2 separate regions of the Homo sapiens genome follow, and region 1 is linked to region 2. Evidence: promoter capture Hi-C in 16 types of primary human blood cells and fetal thymus (Javierre and others, 2016). All regions are on one chromosome and are shown on one strand. The core of a region is centred on a gene start or on the middle of the fragment in contact, and the rest is flanking DNA. Distances in the headings are between cores, read along the strand shown. Region 1 overlaps OSER1 (oxidative stress responsive serine rich 1). Region 2 holds the start of LINC01620 (long intergenic non-protein coding RNA 1620).

What was found. Contacts are between HindIII fragments. The CHiCAGO score rates a contact against its expected background, and 5 or more counts as called.
Region 1: a contact is called between a fragment that was not itself captured here and the fragment with the promoter of LINC01620 in region 2, in 2 of 17 cell types (megakaryocytes and erythroblasts). The highest score is 8.7, in megakaryocytes.

Annotation. Positions count from the first base shown.
Region 1 is chr20:44,194,074-44,198,375 of GRCh38, reverse strand. OSER1 (oxidative stress responsive serine rich 1) reads left to right here. Exons shown (of 4, transcript NM_016470.8): 4 at 637-2,437. The coding sequence ends at 1,324. Among named protein-coding and RNA genes, the nearest start is that of JPH2, 9.0 kb to the right of the region's middle. The HindIII fragment of the contact is 2,051 bases long and covers 346-2,396 here.
Region 2 is chr20:44,462,813-44,466,714 of GRCh38, reverse strand. It overlaps LINC01620 (long intergenic non-protein coding RNA 1620), which reads left to right and starts at 1,371. Exons shown (of 3, transcript NR_132343.1): 1 at 1,371-1,550. It also overlaps the pseudogene RPL37AP1. The HindIII fragment of the contact is 2,937 bases long and covers 1,044-3,902 here.

The DNA of each region.
Region 1 (4,302 bases), core at 122-2,621, 270 kb after region 2:
AGTGCTGGGATTACAGGCGTGAGCCACCGCGCCTGGCTATTTAAATATTTTATAAATAGTTATCTTACATAGTGTGTCCAGTAATTCCCAGTATCTGAAAACCTCAGGGGTTGTAAATATTGTTAGTTTTTTGGTTTTGATTGATTGGCTGTTACCAATGATAGAAATGAATCAGAAATCTATTTAATAGTAATGGCATAATGGTCATTTGTAACGTTAGCCTCACAGTGGTTCTGAAGCTGCTATATTCAGGTTTAGGGCACAATATTTAGGCTTCACAGGATCGGTTTCAGTTGTATGTTTGAGGTGCTTCCCTCAGACCCACTGGTCAAAGGCTCCCAAGCTTAGAGTTGGAACAGGGCAGGTGTTCTGTCCCAAATGTTTGGCCCAGGTGATTCAGTTAAAAAATACCATTATCTCACCTCGTTCTATAGCTTGCTAATAAGATGATGTTGAAGTTGTTGAGACACAAAGACTTAGGCAGCATGAAAATGGAGGAAGGTGCATCTCTTGCAGGAAATTTATGAGCTTAGACTCATAAAGCTGAGGGAAGGTAAATTTCCTACTGTCATAAAGAATCTGTTTAGGACAGCTCCATATCCCAACATCTTCTTGTATATTTTTTTTCCTCTTTAGGTCTACAAGGAAGTCTTCACGAGGAGCAGTGAGAACTCAGCGTCGTCGACGTTCTAAGTCTCCTGTCCTTCATCCTCCAAAGTTTATACATTGCAGTACAATAGCGTCTTCTTCCAGCAGTCAACTCAAGCACAAAAGCCAGACTGACTCACCTGATGGCAGCAGTGGGCTGGGAATTTCATCCCCTAAAGAGTTCAGTGCAGGAGAAAGCTCTACTTCTCTCGATGCTAATCACACAGGGGCAGTCGTTGAGCCTTTGAGAACTTCTGTTCCAAGGCTCCCATCAGAGAGTAAGAAGGAAGACTCCTCTGACGCTACCCAAGTCCCCCAAGCAAGTCTCAAAGCCAGTGATCTCTCTGACTTTCAATCAGTTTCCAAGCTAAACCAGGGCAAGCCATGCACATGCATAGGCAAGGAATGCCAGTGTAAGAGATGGCATGATATGGAAGTGTATTCCTTTTCAGGCCTGCAGAGTGTCCCTCCCTTGGCTCCAGAACGAAGATCCACACTTGAGGACTACTCTCAGTCGCTGCACGCCAGAACTCTGTCTGGCTCTCCCCGATCCTGTTCTGAGCAAGCTCGAGTCTTCGTGGATGATGTGACCATTGAGGACCTGTCAGGCTACATGGAGTATTACTTGTATATTCCCAAGAAAATGTCCCACATGGCAGAAATGATGTACACCTGATAGCAAGAAGCTAATTCATATGCTTTAAACCAATGAAGGCTTGTCAAAGAGATTTAGTTAATGGCAGACCTTGTGGCCACTTTGTGTGAGAAGACATCTCTTTCTGCTCACTGTGCTTGCAATAAAAACTTTTCTTGGCATCTCAGTTAATCTTCATTCTTTCAACTTACTCTCTTGAGTTCTTACATACACTTCAAGGCGAGCAGATCAAAGAAAAATCCCCCTTATTTAGAAATGTTCCTGGGGGATGAAGAAACCATAATTACTTGAGACTGGCAGCAGTGGGTATATGGTAAAAGCCTTTGTAAAACAGTGCATTTTTCAGATTTGTTTAAGGTTTGCTAGCCAAGGAAAGTAAAATGTGATTTTGTAACTGCACTAAACATTTGTCATGCTGTAGTTGCCAGCCCAGAATATTAGAAGTTACAAGACTGATTTAAACCGTCTCTGATTTAATGCAAGATATATTGTGTCTATAAAGGTTTCTCTTGTTATTGTTAAGCCAGAGATCTAAGGTTTAGATTCAATTTGAATAAACTAGCTGGCCTGCCCTCTATTGTTTGAGAGAGTTATTAACCATCACTAAATAAGCCCCTGCTGGTGCTATTCATCCTAAGACATGTTACATGCAGTTTCAAGTAAGCAGCTTGGAATGGGCTGCTTCAGTTGGAGGGAGGGGGTGTAATATTTGAAACGAGTGTGTGTCTTCACCATCTCCAGCATTTTAAATATATGGCGGTTTTTTTTTTTTTTTTTTGTTATCAGTTGTAATACAGGTCTCATACCTCAGTTTCAGATGTTATAGATGGTTACCTCTTTGAGCTGCCCTGTCACCCCAGCAACCCTAAAAGAGAATTTTGTACATTCTGTATCCCACAGATTTGGTCAGCCATTTCAAAATTCCCTCCAGTTTGGTAAAAAAAAAATCTGTCTTCGGTTTCAGCTGGATGATGAATCCTTGTTTTTCAGGTGGCTCCAAAAAGAATGTTGCATGTGTTCAGACCATCCTGAGCAGAGCCACCAAATTTAGTGACAGTGTCTAGCCATGTTAGCAATAATGTTAACAGAAGCTTTTGTTTAAATTACAAAATACATTTATACTATTTACTAAAACTGCGCTGGCTGTGGTTGATTCATGATAATGGGATGTGGGCTTCAACAAATAGGTGATTTGTACTTGGGGGAGAGGGGAAGGGTGTTTACTAGAAAAACCCTAAGCTTAAGTAGTAGTGGGAGTCCTCTGCTGGTCATTGGTTTGGTGTGGATTTAGTGACATCTGAAGGCTGTGGTTAAAGCAAGGGAGCAAAATACCTTATCACAGTTCTAGAAGCTGTGACAGATATTTCCTGATAATGGTGACAGAAGGTACACTATTTAGTATATCTAAGGCAGAAATTCTCAAACTTTTTGTAAGCACTTCCTTTACACTGACAAATTCAGGACCCAAAAGGTTTTGTTATAATCTCCAAAAGGATATAAATATTTACCATGTTAGAAATTAAAACTAAGATTTTTTTAAATATTTAAAAACTCATTACAAGCTAACAAAATTTTTGAATGAAAAATAGCTTTTCCAAAACAAAAAATAGAAGAGTGGCATTGTTCTACCTTTTTGCAAATCTTTTTTAATGTTTGGCTTAATTAGAAGACAGATTCTCATATGTTTCTGCATTCAGTCTCTGGGATATCGCATATTGTGTGGTCTCTGGCAAACTTTTGTACACTTGGGAGAATGAATGTGAAAAAGGCAACTACAGGTTGAATATTCCTTATATGAAATGCTTGGGACCAGAAGTGTTTCGGATCTCAGATTTTTTTTAGATTTTGAAAGATTTGCATTACATGCTTATCAGTTCAGCTTCCATAATCCTAAAAGCCAAACTGCTCCAATGAGCATGTCCTTTGCTCCTCATGTCAGTGCTCAAAAAGTTCTGGATTTTGAAGCATTTCAGATTAGGGACCCTCAACCTGTAATGTTTTAGTACCATGTAAATAATTTTGACCTCAGATTTCCTAAAAGGGCCTCAGGGATTCCAGGACCAAAATTTAAGCTTCTGGTTGTAAAGGTACCACCCCGCTTTCACCTCCACAACTAATGTTTTGGCTCACCTTTAAAAAAATTAAAACTGGGCCGGGCACGGTGGCTCACGCCTTTAATCCCAGCACTTTGGGAGGCCGAGGCGGGCGGAACACAAGGTCAGGAGATCGAGACCATCCTGGCTAACGCGGTGAAACCCCGTCTCTACTAAAAATACAAAAAATTAGCCGGGCGTGGTGGCTGGCGCCTGTAGTCCCAGCTGCTCAGAGGCTGAGGCAGGAGAATGGTGTGAACCCAGGAGGCGGAGCTTGCAGTGAGCCAAGATTGCGCCACTGCACTCCAGCCTGGGCAACAGAGCGAGACTCCGTCTCAAAAATAAAATAAAAGCTGTAGAGGAGTGGAGCTATTGTAATTAAGTAGTGAGCTATTCAAGTTCATGTTAAGTGGGCTTAACATGGGCTTAACATGTTCTTTGAATTAAGGCGAGTTCTTAAGCCTTTAAATCCCTTTTAGTTTGTTTTTCAAGCCAGCGCTCTGGTTATTTACTTAGTGCTGTATATTAGTGCAGCAGTCACCAGAGAATGATGATACGTATTCTTTTCATATGAAGGTGTTAGGAGGGTGTAAGTATTGAAAAGCACAAAGTTCCAATGACCTAGTAACTCAAAATCCAACTTGCATGAAAGTTTAGGCATTCCAGATTTGTGGGAATAAGTTGTAAGTTATCTACATCTCAGCAAAATCTTCCTCAAAACATGAATCTTGAAGTTAAAAATTACTCTGCTCAGACCTAATTGGCCCAACTTTAACATTAGGGTCCCTCATTGGGATATTTGACGTTCTTTTGTGAATGTGATGTACCAAACTAATCTCCTTTCTCTGATACATCTAGGAAAATGGATTTGGTTTGTGGATTGAGGGATTAAGTCTCACTCTGATG
Region 2 (3,902 bases), core at 122-2,621:
CAAAACCAAGATGAAGAGATGAGCTGCGGGGATCTGGCACTGTGGTTCCCGCGTGAAGACAGTGGCTGGCGGTGCCTGGACATACAATACCACCTCCGCTATCACGGTAAAGTCCGCCATCAGAAGCCTGAAGGAGTTGAAAGACCAGTAGACGCTCCTCTACTCTTTGAGACATCACTGGCCTGTAATAAATGGGTTAATTTACGTAACAACAACAACAACAAAAAAGAGCCCAGTCCAAACCCACAGCTGCTAAAATTTGGCCATGGCTACCCAAAACCCCCACATTTACTATTACCCCTATACCCACCACATTCTCCTAGGATGGGAAGAGGAAGCAAAGAGTTCTTTGGTGACCATCTCCCTGGAAGGGTGGAATGGGGTCATGGGGGCTCTTCCATGAGAGGGGCCACTATATGTAGAGAATAATGTGTGGCCATTATGAGGGGGCCCAGTGGTCTCATGTGGGCATGGACATCTAGAGGCTGAGAGAAACGGGCTGCCTGGCTGAACTGGTGAAGGAGCCAGTGTGGGCGTGCTAAGGTAAGCCACATTCCCAGGACTTTCGGAGTACAGGCTGCTGGCTGGAGTGTTTCCCATGGGCCAGTGTTGGCAGAGAGCACCTACAAGGGGTCCTCTTGGGTCCTGTCCCCTAGAGCCTCCTGGAGGGGCAGAGGTGTGGCAGCAGCAAGAAGCTTGAGTTGGATGTTGGGTTCCTAAGGGCTGACGAAGGACTTGCAAGGGACCCCTATGAGGAGAGATGCATCCCCCAAGGTTAAGAGTGAGAGGGCCCCTGTGACAGTGGCCATCTCCATGGAGCCCACGACAGAAAGGGGCAGCTTGAAGCCAGCCAGGATGGTGGCAGCTCAAGGGAGACCCTTCCTCTCCCCTTGCCATCTCCAACACCCCCCACTGTACCCCACGGGTGGGTGAGGGAAGGAGAGATAGAGAAGGAGTCACCCACACCACCTCCCTGAAGCAGGCCTGAGGGTGAGGGGAGAAGGTTTAAACCCAAATCAAATTGGGAATTTTGGTTAGAAGCTTGACTGGACATTCTCATTTCTAAATTGAGGTTGTGTTTGTGACCTAAAGTGACCATAGAATTGCCTGTTTCCTCAGAACAAGCAGAAGAATAATGGGGAGATTTCACCCAGTGGCAGGGAAAATGTTTCTCTACCAAATACATCTTAGAAAGGACACTGGGAGATACAAATTAAGGTATGCTTTGATTATGTCACAGGCTGGGTTTGTTCAACATGCTGGTCTCAGTGAGAAGGAGGATTCTCCAAAACAAGTCTAGGAAGTGAATGTTCCAGAATGTTCTAGAACTTGATTCATTAGGCAGGCAAGAAGTGTGCCTCTGGGAACCTCTTGAGCCCTTCATGGGCTAGCACACCAACACCATCCCCCCAGATGCTTCAGTTGTTGGCTTCGAATGGCTTACTATTTCCATTTCTACGGAGAACTGCCATCTCAGGAATCACCTCACCCTGGAGTTTATTCCCCTCACCCACAGGGTGGCTGGCAGCCAACAGCTGACTCGTACAGAGGTACACAAAGCCAGCCTTTTTGCTAGACTTTACCTGAGACCACATCTTTTCTTGTTTCCCTCCCTGTCTTGCTTCCCTTCATCCCTTACAGGTTCTTTCCTTTATAAATCACACAGTACCTAATCTTTGCTTCAGGCTCTGTGTCTGAGGAGCTGAAAATGATTTTGGGCATCAGGAGGTGCTTTTGTGACTGGGCTCTTTCACTAGTTCTGAGCTAGGTAATCCATTAGCGAAACTTCTAGATCCTAAATCAAACTACATAGATTCAAATCACAGCACCATTACTTCACTGCTGTGTGACCTTGGCCAATGACTAGTTACTACATCCCAGTTTTCTCATCTGTCATACAGAAGGCAAACACTGACCCACCTCACAGGGCTTTGCAAGGATTCAACATACAAAAGCACCTAGGATAGTGCCTGGCACAATCGATGGTGCCATTGTTATTCCTCCAGGCTAACAGCACTGACTAAGTGCAAAGGAAGTGGCTTTTTGCCATCTAGTTGAGGATGCTGTATCCTGGGGTAAGTGGCCAGATCATAGGATGGCTGTGGTTCAATTGTAATAAAATAATCACCCTTGGCCAGGCTGGTGGCTCACACCTGTAATCCAGCACTTTGGGAGGCCGAAGCAGGTGGATCACCTGACGTCAGGAGTTCGAGACCAGCCTGGCTAACATGGTGAAACCTTGTCTCCACTAAAAATACAAAAATTAGCCAGGCATGGTGGTGCGTGCCTGTAATCCCAGCTACTTGGGAGGCTGAGGCAGGAGAATCACTTGAACCTGGGAGGCGGAGGTTGCAGTGAGCTGAGATTGCAACACTGCACGAGACTCCATCTCAAAAACAACAACAACAACAAAAACCCACCGTTTATGGAACCCCTACTATGTCCCAGTCCCTGTTCTATGTGCTGCATATGTGCTTATGTGCTAGTTCACTCTGTCTTCACTACCTTTCAAAACTGATGTAATTATCTCCTTTCTTTTTTGAGATGGAGTCTCGCTCTGTTGCCAGGCTGGAGTACAGTGGCACGATCTTGACTCACTGCAACCTCCGCCTCCCGGGTTCATGTGATTCTCCTGCCTCAGCCTCCCGAGTAGCTGGGACTACAGGTGCACACCACCATGCCCAGCTAATTTTTGTACTTTCAGTAGAGATGGGGTTTCACCATGTTGGCCAGGATGGTCTCGATCTCTTGACCTCATGATCTGCCTGCCTCAGCCTCCTAAAGTGCTGGGATTACAGGCGTGAGCCACTGCACCCGGCCAATTATCTCCATTTTACACATGAAAACACTGAGGTCCAGACAGTCTAAGAAACCATCTATTAGATCCACAGGTTAAAAAAAATGAGTGCATCTAAAATGACTATAATTAAAAAGGCCAGACTGGGAAGTAGTTTGCAGTTTCTTAAAAAGTTAAACACACACTTATGTGACCAGCAATTGTATTCCTGCATAATGAAAGCGTTTGTCCTCTCAAAGACATGAACATGAGTGTTCATAGCAGTTTTATTTGTAATAGGCAAAAACTGGGGGAAACAATGACATGCCCAGGGGCATGGGTGAAGAAACTATGGCTTCTGTATCTTTCTTTGTTGTTTGTTTGAGACAAAGTGGAGTGCAGTGGTGCGATCACGGCTCACTGCAGCTCGACCTTAGGGCTCAAGCGATTCTCCCACCTCAACCTCCTGAGTAGCTGAGACTACAGACAGGCACATGCCACCATGCCTGGCTAATTTTTTGGTGTTTAGTAGAGACACGGTTTCGCTATGTGGCCCAGGCTGGTCTCAAACTCCTGGGCTCAAGTGATCTGCTCGTCTCAGCCTCCCAAAGTGTTGGGATTACAGGTGTGAGCCACCGTGCTTCACCTGTGAGATCTATTAGGTTGGTGCAAAAGTGATTGCGGTTTTTGCCGTTAAAAGTAATGGCGAAATGGCCAGGCATGGTGGTTCATGCCTGAATGAGAGAAGTCAGACAGAAAGAGTACATATTTGCGGGGCGCAGCGGCTCACGCCTGTAATCCTAGCACTTGGAGAGGCTGAGGTGGGCGGATCACCTGAAGCCAGGAGTTCGAGACTACTAAAAATACAAAAAAAAAAAAAATTAGCCAGGTATGGTAGCGCACGCCTGTGATCCCAGCTACTAAGGCTGAGGCAGGAGAATTGCTTGAACCCCTGGGGGGCAGAGGTTTCAGTGACCCGAGATTTCACCACTGCACTCCAGCCTGGGCAACAGAGAGAGGCTCTGTCTCAAAAAAAAAAAAAAAAAAATTAAGACAGAGTACATATAGCATGATTTCATTTCTATAAAATCCCAGAAAATGTAAAGCCATCTATAGTGAAAGAAAG